Regions from separate parts of the Homo sapiens genome. Here region 2 is linked to region 1. Evidence: promoter capture Hi-C in 16 types of primary human blood cells and fetal thymus (Javierre and others, 2016). All regions are on one chromosome and are shown on one strand. The core of a region is centred on a gene start or on the middle of the fragment in contact, and the rest is flanking DNA. Distances in the headings are between cores, read along the strand shown.

Region 1 (7,258 bases), core at 1-2,500:
TTGACGGTTGCCATCCACTCTTTCCCCTTTGTACCAGCTGTAGCCAAAAAGTTGCTGGGGCAGATTGTGGACAAGGAGAAGAACCTCCTTCCCCTCTGCAACATTGAATGGCATGGATTCAGTAGTGAGCTGGGCAGTGGTGGGCGGGTTCCAGAAGGTTAGAAGTGAGGCTAGGAGAGAGGAGAGAGCATCAGTCAATATTGGGACCTATGCATTAGGGTAGAAAAATGGGGCCTTGGGTCCTGAGCAGGTGTCTTCACCCCTCCACCTTGGAGTGTGTGTGTGTGTGTGTGTGTGTGTGTGTGTGTGTGTGTGTGTCCTACTGGGTCAAGGTCAGCAGTGTGACTCCCATTCCCTTAGTGCCTCTGACCTTGTCATTTCTCTGGAATGCCCTTCCCCAGGGATCCGCATGGCTCCCTCCCCACTGCCCTCAGATCTTGATCACATCAGGGTGCTCTTGGGAGATCCTTTCCCTGACACCTCCCCTAGAGACCCTGGGTATTCCCTTTCTGACCTTTTTCTGCTCTGTTCCCTCCAGGGCTCTTGTCAACACCTGACCTCACATTCTAGATCTCTTTGCTTGTCTGTCTTCCCCACCCATGAGAGCGTGAGCTCCGTGAGGGCAGGGATTTGTGTGATGTTGGTTGCACCCCAGTGCCTGGGATAGGCTGCAGACTCCTGTGGATGAGTTAGTGAGCATTCCCAGGGCTCTTCATGTCCTGGGGTTTATTTGCCAATATCTGAGGTTGGTGGCTCAGGGCTCTGTTTAATGCCCCTTTTAAAATGTTTTCCTTAATTGTCACGCTGACTTAAATTGTGATTATTGTCAGCAGTTTTTGAAATTTATTGCTCATTGATGATTCAGTTGGAAAAGGTAAAAAATGGGAGATTGTTTATTCACTAACAGTTTCAGATCACTGAGACTTTCCTTTTATGATCTCTATCCCTTTCATGTCCTCTCTCCTATTTGGCTCCAAGAGAAGCCCTCTGTCCCCTCTTAGAGCTCCATCCTCCCCAGAGGACCCTAGCCATTCTCTGTGCGCCCTCTTTCCGCCCCTTCCCAGGGTGTCCTCCCCTCACCTGTGAGCAGAAGCCCCTGCCAGGGTACACGCACTCTGTGAAGTGGGGCTGAGAGGTGCCCCATGGTGTCTCCTGCTGGCCCTGTCTTCACCTGTGGAGGAGAGCTTGGGCTCCAGGAACGCTTCGAGCACGGCTGCTCTGTCACCTCTGCTGTTTTCCACTCTCTGTGCTGAGCCTCCTCCCTGGGGCCCAGAGCTTTGTCTGATCATGTGTGCTGGGGCGGGGTTTGTCCAGGAAGCTCTGTTTCCTCTCCTCTCATTCCTACCTTTGTCCTTACTTTCTCTTTCCTTTCTGTCTACATTTTGGTTTCCCAGACCACACTTTGAGAATCAAGGCTGATGAGACCTCTGTCCCCATCAGGGGAGGAGGATCCCCCCTCTCCAGCACTGACCTCTATTGTGTCCTGGCTATGGGTCTGTCAGCAGCACACAGAGAACCCTGGCATATCCAAATGTGGTAATTATTTTCTTTGCAACACAGTGAGCTGCCAGGTCTCCCCATGCTCTTCAGTGTGCTGGGAAGGTAGGAAGACACCCAGCAGGAAGGTGACAGAGGTGGCTCTGGGGGATGGAAAGGGGCTCACTGGGGGATGACTGGGGAGGGACCAGCCCTCTGTCTCTAGTGTCACCAGCCTGGCCTCTAACCCAGGGACAGAGACCCAAGTCCAGGGGTCTCAGGTGGAGCTGCAGCTCCCGGATATGGAGGGGGAGGTGTCCTGTGTGTCCTGGGAAGAGAGGACTGTGATAGAGGGAGGTGGGTGGCTCTGGGCTCTACTGTCCTTGGGGAAGACTTCAGGGGGACCCTCCCTCCCTTGAGCTGAGGCTCAAGGCCTGTCCATGTTCTCCCTGACCATCCTGGGTGGTCTCTGTCCTCTGCGAGGCTGATTGTCCTGTGGTCACCGCACCTTCCCCACAGGTGGTGCCAGGAGGGAATGGGGAGCTGCACAGGGACCCCTCACAGAACAGGGTCCTCAGAGGACCCAGGAAGGGACAGAGCAGGTACATGGGAGGGCCTGGAAGGGTGTTTTGGAGCAAGGGATGGAAAGTGGGCTCTACCTTCACCTCCTTAGCAAAGCCAGGTTCATGACCAGGGGAATGTTTCCTGAGTGTTGTCTGTGTGCAATGTCTCCCCCTGGAGGGCAAGACAAGGCCTGCAGCCTTGTCAAGGGCTGCCCCAGGGATGCTGACCAGGGTCTACATGATGTGAGCTGGCCCTGACCCCTGGGCAGATGTGGGCTCTGACCTCCAGGCTTCAAGGTCAAGTCACCCCAGGTCCTGTTCACTGCGGGTCCCCAGGCTGCCCAGCTCCATGCGGTGCAGGATGAGCCCAGGGAGAGGACGTGAGTTGTCCAGAGGACTTCTGTCAAGATTGGAGAGAACTGTCCACCAGGGGGATGGGCTGCCTTAGAAGGAGCCATCTGTCCCAGAGGTTTGAAAAACAAAAGCAAAAACAAAACAAAACAAAAAAACAAAGGCCCAGTGAGGTGCCTTTGGGGGCTTGAGAATGAAATCCTGTCACATGTGGCAACATGAATGGAAGTGGGCTAGGAACAGAAAGTTAAACATCACATGTTCTTACTAATATGTGGAACCTAAAAACAGTTGATCTCATGGAAGGAAAAAGTAGAACAGAGCATACCAGAGGCTGGGAAGGGTAGAGGAAGGGAGGGACAGGGAAAGATGTGTTAAAGGATATAAAATTACAGCTAGATAGGCCGGGCACAGTGGCTCATGCCTGTAATCCCAGCACTTTGGGAGGCCGAGGCGGGTGGATCATGAGGTCAAGAGATTGAGACCATCCTGGCCAACATGGTGAAACCCCGTCTCTACTAAAAATACAAAAAATTAGCCAGGTGTGGTCGTGGGCACCTGTAGTCCCAGCTACTTGGAGGCTGAGGCAGGAGAATCACTGGAACCCGGGAGGCAGAGGTTGCAATGAGCCAAGATTGCACCATTGCACTTCAGTGTGGCGACAGAGTGAGACTCCATCTTAAAAAAAAATAAGGCCAGGCGCGGTGGCTCACGCCTGTAATCCCAGCACTTTGGGAGGCCGAGGCGGGTGGATCATGAGGTCAGGAGATCGAGACCATCCTGGCTAACAAGGTGAAACCCCGTCTCTACTAAAAATACAAAAAATTAGCCGGGCGCGGTGGCGGGCGCCTGTAGTCCCAGCTACTCGGGAGGCTGAGGCAGGAGAATGGCGTGAACCTGGGAAGCGGAGCTTGCAGTGAGCCGAGATTGCGCCACTGCAGTCCGCAGTCCGGCCTGGGCGACAGAGCGAGACTCCGTCTCAAAAAAAAAAAAAAAAAAAAATACAGCTAGATAGGAGGAGGAATAAGTTCTAATGTTCTATACCACTGTAGGATGACTACAGATTTTTTTTTTTTTTTGAGACAGGGTCTGGAGTACACTGCAGCCTCAACCTCCTGCGATCAGGTGATCTTCCTGCCTCAGTCTCCCATGTAGCTGGAACTATAGGTGCACGCCACCACGCCTGGCTAATTTTTTGTTTTATTTTTCAATTTTTTTTTAAATAAAGAGACAGGGTATCACTATGTTGCCCAGGCTGGCCTTGAACTCCTAAGCTCAAGTGATCCTCCGCCTAGGCCTCCCAAAGTTCTAGGATTACAGCCACCATGCCCAGCCAAGTGTTTTGATTTTTTTGTAGAGACTGATCTTATTATGTTGGTCAGGCTGGTCTCGAGCTCCTGGGCTCAAGCAATCCTCCCGTCTCGGCCTTCCAAAGTGCTAAGATTATAGGTGTGACCCACTGCAACCGGCCTGACTATAGTTAACAATAATATATAGTTCCAAGTAGCTAGAAAGGGGATATTGAATGTTCCTAACACAAAGAAATGCTAAATGTTTGAGATGATGGATATGCTAATCACCCTGACCTTATCACTGTACCTTATATGTATCACATCGCTATGGACCCATAAATATGTACAATTATTAGGTGTCAATTAAAAAATACAATTAAAAAAGTCATTTAGAGCTAAATCATGATGTGAAATGTTGTTTTCTTACCTCTCATCTCATGACAACACTTGGCAATGGCAAAACATCCTCAGGAGTTGTGGCTGTGTGCTTTACTGCACAGACCAGTTTGTTTGTGAGAATGTGTCACCTAATGCGAGTGAACCTACATGAGATCATCACCCTTCCTGGGGGACCTCAGAGAAGAACTGAGAACCGCTGGCTCAGGTGTGTGGAGGAGGTTGCAGGTGAGTCACTTGCTGGAAGGAAGGTCTGTGGGCCAGCTTGAGGAGGAATCCATTTGTAGAGGCCACTGGATGGGGCCACCTGGGCCTGGGTGAAGAGGGCCTGAGGGCACAGGACAGGGGGAGAGAGAAGGTGGTGCACATCGTCATGCAGGCAAGTGCTTTAAGTGTCTCTTCATTCATTCATGGCAGGCAACTCACACTTTAACATAGCAACTCAGCAAATAAAATGAGGATATTGACTGGGCGCGGTGGCTCATGCCTGTAATCCCAGCACTTTGGGAGGCTGAGGTGGGTGGATCACCTGAGGTCAGGAGTTCAAGACCAGCCTGGCCAACATGGTGAAACCCCGTCTCTACTAAAAATACAAAGATTAGCTGGGCGTGGTGGTGGACACCTGTAATCCCATCTACTCTGGAGGCTGAGGCAGGAGAATCGCTTGAACCCAGGAGGCGGAGGTTGCAGTGAACCAAGACTGCGCCATTGCATTCCAGCCTGGGTGACTAGAGCGAAACTCTGTCTTAAAAAAAAGAAAAAAAAATATTTTTTCTACTTAGTTCAAGTTCCTAAAAAGGTCTCCAGATTGCCAGATTTCCCTGGAAGCAGGTCAGGGAATGGTCCCCATTAAGAACTATTGAAATACATTAACAAAAAATAAAGACAGATAGAATAGCTGAAACAGTCTTGAAAAAGAAAACTGGAGGACTCACATTTCTTTCTTTCTTCTTTTTTTTTTTGAGATGGAGTTTCACTCTTGTTGCCCAGGCTGGAGTGCAATGGCACGATCTCAGCTCACCGCAACCTCCGCCTCCCGGGTTCAAGCGGTTCTCCTGCCTCAGCTCCCGAGTAGCTGGAATTACAGACATGCACCAACATGCCCGGCTAATTTTTTGTATTTTTAGTAGAGACGGGGTTTCTTCATGTTAGTCAGGCTGATCTCGAACTCCCGACCTCAGGTGATCTGCCTGCCTCAGCCTCCCAAAGTTCTGGGATTACAGGCGTGAGCCACCGCGCCTGGCCAGGACTCACATTTCCTTATCCGAAAACTTACTATATGGTGGGTACAGTGTGCCTTGCTCCAGTGACGAATGCACTGAAGGCCTTGACTTTACCACAATGCAATATATCAGAATAGCAAAATTGGACTTGTACCCTATGATTATGCACATTTTTTAAAAAAGAAAATTTACTACAAAGTTACTGTAATCTGAAGAGTGTGGAACTGGCATAAAGATACACTTACACCAGTGGATTAGATTTGACAGTCTGGAAGTAAACCCTCACATTTACAGTCAGTTGATCTTTGACAAGGGTGCTGTGGTTTTTTAGGTGTCAATTTGCCTGGATTAAGAGACACCCTCATAGCTGGTAAAGCCTTGTATCTGGGTATGACTGTCAGGGTGTTTCCCGAAGAGACTGGCATTGGAGTCAGTGAACTCAGTAAGGAAGACCTGCCCTCACTCACTGTGGGTGGGCACCATCCACTTGGCTGAGGGCCTGGATAGAGCACAAAGGCAGAGGGATGGTGAATTCTCTCTTTCTCTCTCCTGGAGCTGGGACACCCTTTTCCTTTTGTCTTTGGACATTAGAACTCCAGGTTGTTTGGCCTTTGGCCATGGACTGAGGGTACACCATGGCTTCTTTGGTCAGAACTGAGCCATGCTGCCAGCTTCCCTGGTTTTCCAGCATGTAACTGGCTAATCATGGGACTTCTCAGCCTCCGTATTCACACAAGCCAATTCCTCTAACAAATCCCCTCATATATTTAGATCTATTTCTATATCTACAACTATATCTTTATCCCGTTTTCTCTGTCTCTCTGAGGACCCCGACTAGTACAGGTGCCAAGTTAATTGAATGGAGGAAGAATAATCTTTTCAAATAATGATGCTGGGACAACTGGATAACCACCTGCAAAGAAATGAAATTTTGGAACTCTATTTCTCACCATATTCAAAAATTAAAACAGATCAATGAGTTAAGTATAAGAGCTAAAATCATAAGAAACTCTCAGAAGAAAACATAAGGATAAGTCTTTATCACCTCAGATGTGGCAATGGACTTTTTAGATATGACACAAAAACATGAACAACAAAAGGAAAAATAAACTGGACTTTATCAAGATGAAAGCCTTTTGTGCATCAAAGGACATTATCAAGAAAGTGAAAAGATCACCCACCGAATGGGAGAAAAAATTTGCAGACCATTATATGAATAAGGTTTTATGTCCAGAAAATATAAAGAACTGCTACAACTCAATAATAACAAAAACCCAAAAACCTGATTAAAAATGGGCAAAGGGGCTGGATGCGGTGGCTCACGCCTGTAATCCCAGCACTTTGGGAGGCTGAGGCGGGCAGATCACGAGGTCAGGAGTTCAAGACCATCCTGGCTTACACGGTGAAACCCTGTCTCTACTAAAAATACAAAAAATTAGCCGGGCGTGGTGGCAGGCGCCTGTAGTCCCAGCTATTTGGGAGGCTGAGGCAAGAGAATGGGGTGAACCCAGGAGGCGGAGCTTGCAGTGAGCCAAGATTGTGCCACTGCACTCCAGCCTGGGCAACAGAGTGAGACTCGATCTCAACAACAACAACAAAAATGGGCAAAGGACTCAGATGGATATTTGTCTAAATGATATACAAATAGTCAATAAGCACATGAAAAGACACTTAGCATCAATAGTCACTAGTGAAATGCAAATCAAAACCACAGTAAGACACCACATCACACCTATAACAATTGCTACAATTCATTTAAAATGTTAAATAAGAAATGTTGGCAATATGTGGAGAAGTTGGAATCCTCATACATTGCTGGTGGGAATATAAAATGGCACAGTCACTGTGGGAAACGGTTTGGCTTTTCCTTAAAAAGCTGATCACAGAATTATCATATGAAATAGCAATTTCATTGTTAGGTATATGTCCAAAGAATTGAAAACAGGGACTCAAACAG
Region 2 (7,196 bases), core at 4,697-7,196, 820 kb before region 1:
GAAAACATGTTTTATTAAGAGGAAAAATCTAGGCTAGAAGTGCTTTATGCTCTTTTTTCTCTTTATGTTCAAATTCATATACTTTTAGATCATTCCTTAAAGAAGAATCTATCCCCCTAAGTAAATGTTATCACTGACTGGATAGTGTTGGTGTCTCACTCCCAACCCCTGTGTGGTGACAGTGCCCTGCTTCCCCAGCCCTGGGCCCTCTCTGATTCCTGAGAGCTTTGGGTGCTCCTTCATTAGGAGGAAGAGAGGAAGGGTGTTTTTAATATTCTCACCATTCACCCATCCACCTCTTAGACACTGGGAAGAATCAGTTGCCCACTCTTGGATTTGATCCTCGAATTAATGACCTCTATTTCTGTCCCTTGTCCATTTCAACAATGTGACAGGCCTAAGAGGTGCCTTCTCCATGTGATTTTTGAGGAGAAGGTTCTCAAGATAAGTTTTCTCACACCTCTTTGAATTACCTCCACCTGTGTCCCCATCACCATTACCAGCAGCATTTGGACCCTTTTTCTGTTAGTCAGATGCTTTCCACCTCTTGAGGGTGTATACTGTATGCTCTCTACACAGGAATATGCAGAGGAAATAGAAAAAGGGAAATCGCATTACTATTCAGAGAGAAGAAGACCTTTATGTGAATGAATGAGAGTCTAAAATCCTAAGAGAGCCCATATAAAATTATTACCAGTGCTAAAACTACAAAAGTTACACTAACAGTAAACTAGAATAATAAAACATGCATCACAGTTGCTGGTAAAGCTAAATCAGATATTTTTTTCTTAGAAAAAGCATTCCATGTGTGTTGCAGTGATGACAGGAGTGCCCTTCAGTCAATATGCTGCCTGTAATTTTTGTTCCCTGGCAGAATGTATTGTCTTTTCTCCCTTTAAATCTTAAATGCAAAACTAAAGGCAGCTCCTGGGCCCCCTCCCCAAAGTCAGCTGCCTGCAACCAGCCCCACGAAGAGCAGAGGCCTGAGCTTCCCTGGTCAAAATAGGGGGCTAGGGAGCTTAACCTTGCTCGATAAAGCTGTGTTCCTAGAATGTCGCTCCTGTTCCCAGGGGCACCAGCCTGGAGGGTGGTGAGCCTCACTGGTGGCCTGATGCTTACCTTGTGCCCTCACACCAGTGGTCACTGGAACCTTGAACACTTGGCTGTCGCCCGGATCTGCAGATGTCAAGAACTTCTGGAAGTCAAATTACTGCCCACTTCTCCAGGGCAGATACCTGTGAACATCCAAAACCATGCCACAGAACCCTGCCTGGGGTCTACAACACATATGGACTGTGAGCACCAAGTCCAGCCCTGAATCTGTGACCACCTGCCAAGATGCCCCTAACTGGGATCCACCAATCACTGCACATGGCAGGCAGCGAGGCTTGGAGGTGCTTCGCCACAAGGCAGCCCCAATTTGCTGGGAGTTTCTTGGCACCTGGTAGTGGTGAGGAGCCTTGGGACCCTCAGGATTACTCCCCTTAAGCATAGTGGGGACCCTTCTGCATCCCCAGCAGGTGCCCCGCTCTTCAGAGCCTCTCTCTCTGAGGTTTACCCAGACCCCTGCACCAATGAGACCATGCTGAAGCCTCAGAGAGAGAGATGGAGCTTTGACCAGGAGCCGCTCTTCCTTGAGGGCCAGGGCAGGGAAAGCAGGAGGCAGCACCAGGAGTGGGAACACCAGTGTCTAAGCCCCTGATGAGAACAGGGTGGTCTCTCCCATATGCCCATACCAGGCCTGTGAACAGAATCCTCCTTCTGCAGTGACAATGTCTGAGAGGACGACATGTTTCCCAGCCTAACGTGCAGCCATGCCCATCTACCCACTGCCTACTGCAGGACAGCACCAACCCAGGAGCTGGGAAGCTGGGAGAAGACATGGAATACCCATGGCTTCTCACCTTCCTCCAGTCCAGTGGGCACCATTTATGCCTAGGACACCCACCTGCCGGCCCCAGGCTCTTAAGAGTTAGGTCACCTAGGTGCCTCTGGGAGGCCGAGGCAGGAGAATTGCTTGAACCCGGGAGGCAGAGGTTGCAGTGAGCCGAGATCACACCACTGCACTCCAGCCTGGGTGACAGAATGAGACTCTGTCTCAAAAAAAAAGAGAAAGATAGCATCAGTGGCTACCAAGGGCTAGGGGCAGGGGAAGGTGGAGAGTTAATGATTAATAGTATGAAGTTTCTATGTGAGATGATGAAAATGTTCTGGAAAAAAAAATATAGTGGTGAGGATGTAGAATATTGTGAATATAATTAACGGCATTTAATTGTACACTTAACATGATTAATGTGGCATATTTTATCTTATGTATTTGACTACATCCAAGAAACACTGGGAGAGGGAAAGCCCACCATGTAAAATACACCCACCCTAATCAGATAGTCCTCATTGTACCCAGGTACAGGCCCCTCATGACCTGCACAGGAATAACTAAGGATTTAAGGACATGAGGCTTCCCAGCCAACTGCAGGTGCACAACATAAATGTATCTGCAAACAGACTGAGAGTAAAGCTGGGGGCACAAACCTCAGCACTGCCAGGACACACACCCTTCTCGTGGATTCTGACTTTATCTGACCCGGCCCACTGTCCAGATCTTGTTGTGGGATTGGGACAAGGGAGGTCATAAAGCCTGTCCCCAGGGCACTCTGTGTGAGCACACGAGACCTCCCCACCCCCCCACCGTTAGGTCTCCACACATAGATCTGACCATTAGGCATTGTGAGGAGGACTCTAGCGCGGGCTCAGGGATCACACCAGAGAATCAGGTACAGAGAGGAAGACGGGGCTCGAGGAGCTGATGGATGACACAGAGCAGGGTTCCTGCAGTCCACAGGTCCAGCTCACCCTGGTGTAGGTGCCCCATCCCCCTGATCCAGGCATCCCTGACACAGCTCCCTCCCGGAGCCTCCTCCCAGGTGACACATCAGGGTCCCTCACTCAAGCTGTCCAGAGAGGGCAGCACCTTGGACAGCGCCCACCCCACTTCACTCTTCCTCCCTCACAGGGCTCAGGGCTCAGGGCTCAAGTCTCAGAACAAATGGCAGAGGCCAGTGAGCCCAGAGATGGTGACAGGGCAATGATCCAGGGGCAGCTGCCTGAAACGGGAGCAGGTGAAGCCACAGATGGGAGAAGATGGTTCAGGAAGAAAAATCCAGGAATGGGCAGGAGAGGAGAGGAGGACACAGGCTCTGTGGGGCTGCAGCCCAGGATGGGACTAAGTGTGAAGACATCTCAGCAGGTGAGGCCAGGTCCCATGAACAGAGAAGCAGCTCCCACCTCCCCTGATGCACGGACACACAGAGTGTGTGGTGCTGTGCCCCCAGAGTCGGGCTCTCCTGTTCTGGTCCCCAGGGAGTGAGAAGTGAGGTTGACTTGTCCCTGCTCCTCTCTGCTACCCCAACATTCACCTTCTCCTCATGCCCCTCTCTCTCAAATATGATTTGGATCTATGTCCCCGCCCAAATCTCATGTCAAATTGTAAACCCCAATGTTGGAGGTGGGGCCTTGTGAGAAGTGATTGGATAATGCGGGTGGATTTTCTGCTTTGATGCTGTTTCTGTGATAGAGATCTCACATGATCTGGTTGTTTAAAAGTGTGTAGCACCTCTCCCCTCTCTCTCTCTCTCTCTTACTCATGCTCTGCCATGTAAGACGTTCCTGTTTCCCCTTCACCGTCCAGAATGATTGTAAGTTTTCTGAGGCCTCCCCAGGAGCAGAAGCCACTATGCTTCCTGTACAACTGCAGAATGATGAGCGAATTAAACCTCTTTTCTTTATAAATTACCCAGTCTCAGGTATTTCTTTATAGCAATGCGAGGACAGACTAATACAATCTTCTACTCCCAGATCCCCGCACACGCTTAGCCCCAGACATCACTGCCCCTGGGAGCATGCACAGCGCAGCCTCCTGCCGACAAAAGCAAAGTCACAAAAGGTGACAAAAATCTGCATTTGGGGACATCTGATTGTGAAAGAGGGAGGACAGTACACTTGTAGCCACAGAGACTGGGGCTCACCGAGCTGAAACCTGGTAGCACTTTGGCATAACATGTGCATGACCCGTGTTCAATGTCTAGAGATCAGTGTTGAGTAAAACAGCCTGGTCTGGGGCCGCTGCTGTCCCCACTTCCCTCCTGTCCACCAGAGGGCGGCAGAGTTCCTCCCACCCTGGAGCCTCCCCAGGGGCTGCTGACCTCCCTCAGCCGGGCCCACAGCCCAGCAGGGTCCACCCTCACCCGGGTCACCTCGGCCCACGTCCTCCTCGCCCTCCGAGCTCCTCACACGGACTCTGTCAGCTCCTCCCTGCAGCCTATCGGCCGCCCACCTGAGGCTTGTCGGCCGCCCACTTGAGGCCTGTCGGCTGCCCTCTGCAGGCAGCTCCTGTCCCCTACACCCCCTCCTTCCCCGGGCTCAGCTGAAAGGGCGTCTCCCAGGGCAGCTCCCTGTGATCTCCAGGACAGCTCAGTCTCTCACAGGCTCCGACGCCCCCTATGCTGTCACCTCACAGCCCTGTCATTACCATTAACTCCTCAGTCCCATGAAGTTCACTGAGCGCCTGTCTCCCGGTTACAGGAAAACTCTGTGACAGGGACCACGTCTGTCCTGCTCTCTGTGGAATCCCAGGGCCCAGCCCAGTGCCTGACACGGAACAGATGCTCCATAAATACTGGTTAAATGTGTGGGAGATCTCTAAAAAGAAGCATATCACCTCCGTGTGGCCCCCAGCAGTCAGAGTCTGTTCCATGTGGACACAGGGGCACTGGCACCAGCATGGGAGGAGGCCAGCAAGTGCCCGCGGCTGCCCCAGGAATGAGGCCTCAACCCCCAGAGCTTCAGAAGGGAGGACAGAGGCCTGCAGGGAATAGATCCTCCGGCCTGACCCTGCAGCCTAATCCAGAGTTCAGGGTCAGCTCACACCACGTCGACCCTGGTCAGCATCCCTAGGGCAGTTCCAGACAAGGCCGGAGGTCTCCTCTTGCCCTCCAGGGGGTGACATTGCACACAGACATCACTCAGGAAACGGATTCCCCTGGACAGGAACCTGGCTTTGCTAAGGAAGTGGAGGTGGAGCCTGGTTTCCATCCCTTGCTCCAACAGACCCTTCTGATCTCTCCCACATACCTGCTCTGTTCCTTTCTGGGTCCTATGAGGACCCTGTTCTGCCAGGGGTCCCTGTGCAACTCCAGACTCCCTCCTGGTACCACCATGGGGAAGGTGGGGTGATCACAGGACAGTCAGCCTCGCAGAGGACAGAGACCACCCAGGACTGTCAGGGAGAACATGGACAGGCCCTGAGCCGCAGCTCAGCCAACAGACACGGAGAGGGAGGGTCCCCCTGGAGCCTTCCCCAAGGACAGCAGAGCCCAGAGTCACCCACCTCCCTCCACCACAGTCCTCTCTTTCCAGGACACACAAGACACCTCCCCCTCCACATGCAGGATCTGGGGACTCCTGAGACCTCTGGGCCTGGGTCTCCATCCCTGGGTCAGTGGCGGGGTTGGTGGTACTGGAGACAGAGGGCTGGTCCCTCCCCAGCCACCACCCAGTGAGCCTTTTTCTAGCCCCCAGAGCCACCTCTGTCACCTTCCTGTTGGGCATCATCCCACCTTCCCAGAGCCCTGGAGAGCATGGGGAGACCCGGGACCCTGCTGGGTTTCTCTGTCACAAAGGAAAATAATCCCCCTGGTGTGACAGACCCAAGGACAGAACACAGCAGAGGTCAGCACTGGGGAAGACAGGTTGTCCTCCCAGGGGATGGGGGTCCATCCACCTTGCCGAAAAGATTTGTCTGAGGAACTGAAAATAGAAGGGAAAAAAGAGGAGGGACAAAAGAGGCAGAAATGAGAGGGGAGGGGACAGAGGACACCTGAATAAAGACCACACCCATGACCCACGTGATGCTGAGAAGTACTCCTGCCCTAGGAAGAGACTCAGGGCAGAGGGAGGAAGGACAGCAGACCAGACAGTCACAGCAGCCTTGACAAAACGTTCCTGGAACTCAAGCTCTTCTCCACAGAGGAGGACAGAGCAGACAGCAGAGACCATGGAGTCTCCCTCGGCCCCTCCCCACAGATGGTGCATCCCCTGGCAGAGGCTCCTGCTCACAGGTGAAGGGAGGACAACCTGGGAGAGGGTGGGAGGAGGGAGCTGGGGTCTCCTGGGTAGGACAGGGCTGTGAGACGGACAGAGGGCTCCTGTTGGAGCCTGAATAGGGAAGAGGACATCAGAGAGGGACAGGAGTCACACCAGAAAAATCAAATTGAACTGGAATTGGAAAGGGGCAGGAAAACCTCAAGAGTTCTATTTTCCTAGTTAATTGTCACTGGCCACTACGTTTTTAAAAATCATAATAACTGCATCAGATGACACTTTAAATAAAAACATAACCAGGGCATGAAACACTGTCCTCATCCGCCTACCGCGGACATTGGAAAATAAGCCCCAGGCTGTGGAGGGCCCTGGGAACCCTCATGAACTCATCCACAGGAATCTGCAGCCTGTCCCAGGCACTGGGGTGCAACCAAGATCACACAAATCCCTGCCCTCATGAAGCTCATGCTCTCATGGGGAGGAAGACAGACATACAAAGAGATCTAGAATGTGAGGTCAGGTGTTGACAAGAGCCCTGGAGGGAATAGAGCAGGGAAAGGTCAGAAAAGGAAGACCCAGGGTCTCTAGAGGAGGTGTCAGGGAAGGGATCTCCCAAGAATGCCCTGATGTGAGCAGGACCTGAAGGCAATGGGGAGGGAGCCGTGAAGACCCCTGGAAAAGCAGATTCCACACAGGGAAATGCCAAGGTCAGAGGTGCTAAGGAAATAGGAGACACACTGCTGACCTTGACCTAGTAGGACACACACACACACACACACACACACACACTCACTCACTCCAGGGCTGGGGGATGAAGAGACCTGCTCAGGACCCAGGACCCCATTTTTCCACCCTAATGCATAGGTCCCAATATTGACCGATGCTCTCTGCTCTCTCCTAGCCTCACTTCTAACCTTCTGGAACCCGCCCACCACTGCCAAGCTCACTATTGAATCCACGCCGTTCAATGTCGCAGAGGGGAAGGAGGTGCTTCTACTTGTCCACAATCTGCCCCAGCATCTTTTTGGCTACAGCTGGTACAAAGGTGAAAGAGTGGATGGCAACCGTCAAATTATAGGATATGTAATAGGAACTCA

Evidence for each region. Contacts are between HindIII fragments. The CHiCAGO score rates a contact against its expected background, and 5 or more counts as called.
Region 2: a contact is called between the fragment with the promoter of CEACAM5 here and the fragment with the promoter of CEACAM1 in region 1, in 3 of 17 cell types (neutrophils, erythroblasts and naive B cells). The highest score is 11.5, in neutrophils.

What each region holds. Positions count from the first base shown.
Region 1 is chr19:42,527,231-42,534,488 of GRCh38, forward strand. It overlaps CEACAM1 (CEA cell adhesion molecule 1), which reads right to left and starts at 1,251. Exons shown (of 9, transcript NM_001712.5): 1 at 1,081-1,251; 2 at 1-170. The coding sequence starts at 1,144. The region is part of intron 2 of LIPE-AS1 (LIPE antisense RNA 1); the gene reads left to right. RefSeq lists enhancers at 1,259-1,328, 1,551-2,413. The HindIII fragment of the contact is 21,112 bases long and covers 1-7,258 here.
Region 2 is chr19:41,702,680-41,709,875 of GRCh38, forward strand. CEACAM5 (CEA cell adhesion molecule 5) reads left to right here and starts at 5,947. Exons shown (of 10, transcript NM_004363.6): 1 at 5,947-6,116; 2 at 7,001-7,196. The coding sequence starts at 6,053. RefSeq lists silencers at 4,068-4,187, 4,208-4,257, 4,288-4,337. The HindIII fragment of the contact is 18,236 bases long and covers 1-7,196 here.